Regions from separate parts of the Homo sapiens genome. Here region 2 is linked to region 1. Evidence: promoter capture Hi-C in 16 types of primary human blood cells and fetal thymus (Javierre and others, 2016). All regions are on one chromosome and are shown on one strand. Each heading gives the region's core, a stretch centred on a gene start or on the middle of the fragment in contact. The rest is flanking DNA. Distances are from core to core; before and after follow the strand shown. Region 1 holds the start of PLPPR4 (phospholipid phosphatase related 4). Region 2 has its middle 110 kb from the start of SNX7.

The links. The method cuts DNA at HindIII sites, captures the fragments that hold promoters and counts their contacts. A CHiCAGO score of 5 or more calls a contact.
Region 2: a fragment that was not itself captured here is called in contact with the fragment with the promoter of PLPPR4 in region 1 in 1 of 17 cell types (naive CD8 T cells); the score reaches 5.0 in naive CD8 T cells.

What each region holds. Positions count from the first base shown.
Region 1 is chr1:99,263,161-99,265,860 of GRCh38, forward strand. PLPPR4 (phospholipid phosphatase related 4) reads left to right here and starts at 1,332. Exons shown (of 7, transcript NM_014839.5): 1 at 1,332-1,511. The coding sequence starts at 1,434. The HindIII fragment of the contact is 14,890 bases long and covers 1-2,700 here.
Region 2 is chr1:98,774,838-98,777,537 of GRCh38, forward strand. No RefSeq gene overlaps it. Among named protein-coding and RNA genes, the nearest start is that of SNX7, 110 kb to the left of the region's middle. The HindIII fragment of the contact is 8,099 bases long and covers 1-2,700 here.

The sequences.
Region 1 (2,700 bases), core at 82-2,581:
GGAGTTTGTGGTCATGAGTTGGATGTGAGACAGCATCATGCGGTTGTGTGTTTTTCTCCAGCCACTTTCAGTTGCTCTGGTAAGGGCAGAGAATTGGGTTCAACTAAGCCGGGATATTATCAGGTGAGTATGGCAAATTGGGAGGCGGAAACAAGCAATTATATTGCTAGACTTTGGAACCCAAGCCTGGCAGAAGAAAGTGGGGGCAAGAGGTGGTGTTGGCAGTGAAATGAGTATATTATTAGATAGGATGGTCCCATACTGCCAAAGACCTATTGGAGGAGCAACTAAAAAAGGGAAATGGATAAATGAGTTGGGAATTGGCCATCACATGCTTGAAATGGAGACTTGGAGATATTGGAAATGGCCTGGGACATGTGATCACAAAATTAGGTCATCTTTATTAGTATAATATCATGTCTCGTGTTTGCTGGGTCTTTCTCTCTTCTATATCAACTTGATACTTCTGGTTGCCAAAGTAATCACAAAATTGAGACTAGCCATGTATACTGCCAACAAGATGAAGGACTTTAGATTATTAATATCTGAAGACATACTTCTTTTTACTGTTATGATTGCAATACTGACACTGTTCTGGGGGTGTGACAGTGAGATTAGAACATACAGTAGCCTCTGGGCTCAATGAGGATGCCCATTACCTGTGCATTCACACATCTGCCTCTCTGGATGCAAGGAACCCACATCATTCCCACACAACCGGTAGTGTTTGTTAGTGGGTGCTTCGATATGGAAGGGAGATAAGGAGTCTCCTAGGCAGAGAATCCCCCGTAGGAGCTGTCATTCCTGGGTAGCAACAAGCTGTCAGTTAATGCCTACCTCAGCCTACTTTTCAGTATGGGATCCAAGATCTCATTTCGTGGAGGTAGGGGTTGGTTTTCTTGCTATGGGTCAGCGCGCTGGAGCAGGGCTTCTGATCCTTAGCATTCTTTAATAGCATTCCTAGAGTGACCTAGGAGGCTCCCCAGGAGGAGACTAGGTGGCTTAGCTCCTCAGCCTAACTACTGCAGAAACCAGGAGTGCGTCCTCCTTTTCGGATTCTTGACGTCAAGCTCCGACAGCCTTGGAGCGTCGCAAGGGCGGTAGAGAGCTGAGGGAGGGTGACAGGGAGGGGAAGCCATTGCAGCAACAGCTTGGAGGAGGGAGCTGGACGTCGTCTCTCGCCAGAAAAACGGGGAGCAGGAGCCAGACTAGGGGAGGAAGAGGACTGGCCCGCTCAGGGAATAGCTGGGTTGCTGCAAAAAGGGGCGGGGAGAAGGCGGGGGCGCTGCATGCAGCGCGCTGGCTCCAGCGGTGGCCGCGGGGAATGTGACATCAGCGGCGCCGGGCGCTTGGGGCTGGAGGAGGCAGCTCGCCTCAGCTGCGCTGTGCACACCTCGCCCGGGGGAGGACGCAGACCCGGGCAGGCGGCAGGGATGTCGGCGAAGGAGAGGCCAAAGGGCAAAGTGATCAAGGACAGCGTCACCCTCCTGCCCTGCTTTTATTTCGTCGAGGTGAGTTGGCCCAGTGCCTTGGCATAATGCAGATCCTCTGGGCATCTCCTGAGCGAATTCAGGTCCTGGACAGTGTTGGAGGCGCAGAGATCCTGCCGGGCGCGCGCGGCTGTCCCCAAATGCCCGACCCTCCCCTCTTCCCCTAGATTTCACAGCAGCTCCCCGAATGTGCCTGTGAATACCTGTCAGCCCGGGGTGATTACCATTAGAGGTGTCGCTGCTGGGTGGCCTGCAGGGAACGGATACCTGTGTGAGTGAGTGTGGTTTTAGTTCCTTGGCCCTCCTGTAGTGCCTGTGTGCACAACGTCCGCTAGTGCCCCAGAGGGGCCATGATGCCCATATTTCGGGATTTGTGTCTTCAACCTGCCGAGTACGTGTCGGGAACTCCGTGTGCACACAGCTATGCCTAGGGCATATGAGGGTTGAAGGTGTTTACATAGTACAAATATTGTTAATTGCTTTTATTGCTCCTGCCCCCCCCCCCCAAATCCTTCTCCTATTATATTATTTTGGTGCTCACATACGCTTCTGAAATTGGATCTGCATCTCTAAACATCAATCATCAATGTACTGGCCTCTTTCCACAGTAAAAAATACATATTATATATGTGTGTATACATAACTATATATAATATTTTAAATCTATGACATCATCTGATTTTACATGATTTGTATCTGAGTATTTACTGTGCTGAGCAGTATTATAGATAAACAATTAAATGCAGATGTATCCGTAATGACCCTCTAACTTACCAAAATGCAGTATTTGAGGGAGAAACAATTCATAGGAGTGTTATAAAGATTGGCAGATACAGTGATTCCGTGTACTGTGCTCCATTGCATTAGGAAGACATTTTTAAGCAAGAGGTTTATTAAATTACAGATACTGAAGGGTTGTATTGCATAGATTTAGGGAAATCAGATGGTTTTAGGCACAAAACTATATTCTGTTTAGTTAGAGTCTGGGTTGCATAGAGAATTATAAGACTGTTGCTGAATCATAAATATCCTTCTCTGGCCATCTTTTCAGCCAAATATGGAGGTTTAGCCCTTCGAAGTGCAAACAGTAGATTCTGTATTCAATGATTGTAAGGCTTATCTGTCCTGAGGAATAGTCACTGCCTTGAAACTTGGGAGAAGAGACATTGTCGGACTGTTCTTATAGGTAACAATATATTTGGAAGTTTTG
Region 2 (2,700 bases), core at 174-2,673, 490 kb before region 1:
CACAGGACAGTTGTGTTATGCTAGATGGAAGTATGACCTTGTTATTGTCTTTATTGGAGATTAAAGTACAGTAGCCCCCTTATCTGTGGCAGATACGTTCCAGCACCCCCAGTGGATGCCTGAAACTGAGGATAATCCCAAACCTATAAATAGTATGCATGAATTTCTTTTCACTTCTTCACAATTTCACAGATAGAACATGCATTTTCACTGTAGATCTTAACAACCTCAGCATATGTTTTTTTTCTTTCCTTATTAAGTCAAGAACTTCTACTTTTTCACTTAAAGGAAGTACTTTATAACTTCTCTTTGGCATACCCAAATTGCGAGTATCACTACTTTTGCGCCTTGGGACCACTATTAAGTAAAATAAGGGTTACTTGAACACAAGCACTGTAAACCATGACAGTCTATTTGATAACCAAGTTAGCTACTAAGTGGCTAATGGGCAGAGAGAATAGACAGTGGACATGCTGGACAAAGGGAGGATTCACGTCTCGGGGTCAGAGTGGGATGGTGTGAGATTTCAGCACACTACTCGGAACAGTGTTCAATTTAAAACTTATGAATTGATTATTTCTGTAATTTTAATTTGATATTTTAGGACCATGGTTGACTTGAGTAGCTGAAACCAAGGAAATCAAAACAATGAGTCTGGGGGGATTACTGTATGGTTAAAGATGTGTGTGGGCACCAAGTTCACATGGAGTGGACTTGTGATGATTAATTTTATGTGTCTACTTGGCTGAGCTATGGTGCCCAGAGAGTTGGTCAAATGTTATTCAGAATGTTTTTGGATGGCATTTACATTTAAGTGCATGACCTTTGAATAAAATATATTGTTTTTGGTGATGCAGGCCTGGATAGGACAAAAGACTGACTTGACCTGGGCAAGAGGAAATTCTGCCAGCAGACTGCCTTGGACCTTCATCTGCAACATTGCCTCTTTCCTAGGTCTCAAGCCTGCTGGCCCACCCTGCAGATTTTTTTTTTTTTTTGGCAGCCTTCATAATCTTGAGAGCCTTCAAATAAATCTCCTTGACTTACAATGGGGTTATATCCTGATAAGCCCATCATAAGTTGAAATATCCTATGTCAAAAATGTATTTATTACACCTAACCTACTGAAGAGATATCTTAGTCTAGCGTACCTTAAATGCTCTGAGAACACTTACCTCAGCCCACAGTTAGGCAAAGTCATCTAACATAAAGCCTATTATATAATATAATATTAAATAGCTCATATAAATTATTGAATATTGTACTGAAAGTGAAAAACAGAATAGTGCATGGCTGCACGAAGTATGGTTTCTAATGAATACCTATTGCTTTTACACCATCATAAAGTTGAAAAACCCTAAATCAAACCATTGTAAGCCAGGCACCATCTGTATATAAAATCCCATTGGTTCTGTTTCTCTGGAGAACTCTTAACTACTACAATGCCTCATAGTCTGTGTGTTGTCTGAGTCCTAATCTCCTCTTCTTATAAGCATGTTGGTCATATTGGATTAGAGATCACCTATATGAGTTCATTTTACCTAACTCATTTTTTTAAAGACCCAACTCCAAATACAGTCACATTCTGAGGTACTGAGGTTGGAAATTCAACATATGAATTTTGAGGGGGATGTAATTCAGCCCATAACAAATAGCGTGATAATAGTGCCTCAGAGAGCTCTGAAGTGAGAATTAAATACGTTAATACATGTCAAGTACTAAATACAATGCCTGGCACACAGCAACAGAAATACAATCACTAGAATTTTTTTTCCACAATAACCTTTTGCGTTCACTAAAATTTTTATGAAAAACTTAATTTGCGTGGCTAATGAGTGTTGGAATTGTGGGGCTCTGTATATCTCAACATTTCCTGGGTTAAGTTAACATAGTAAATTGAGGTATCCCTTTTCTCCTTAGGCAAATCCATAGCAGTGATGAGTACTGGTGATCATTTTTGCAAAATATTCTCAAAATATGTCTCAAGAAAGTCAGAATTAGACCATTGTTTTGGAGTTTTGTTTCTAATCTATAATGAACTAAGAAAGTCCAAATGAATTTATTCGTAACACATGTAAAATATATTTTTAAGTAAATAAGAGCAACCAATTGAGTCATTTATTTAAGAAATACTTATGTACTTATTGAATGATACTATGTGCCAGGCACTATTATACACTGGGAGGAGCCAGTGGTGAAGAAAATGACAAAGTCTGCTCTCTTGGAGCTTATATTCTAGTGGAAAGAGATCTAGAGTAAACAAACGGGCAAGTATTTAATATGATGGCAACAAGTACAGTGAAGAAAACTGTATCAAGGCAAGGGGTTAGAGAGTGGGGCAGCTATATGACACAGGGTAGTCAGTGACTGTCTCTTTGAGAAGACAATGATATATATGAAGTAGTGATGAAGCCAGTCTTGCGGGTACAGAGGAAGGAATATCTCAGGAGAGGGAACAGTAAATACCAATACCCTAAGCCAACATTAAACTTGGTGTCTTCAAGAACAACAGGGAAGCCAGGATGATTGGAGCAATGTGAATGAGGGAGGGGAAGAGTGCTGGGGATGATATCAGAGTGGTCACAGGTAACAGATCGTGTGATATATCCTCTGCCTTTCTGCACAAATTATGTTAAATCATTTTTAAATTGAAAATTTTAAAAGTTTGCTTATGTTCAAATCTTCAAAGTGATCATGCTA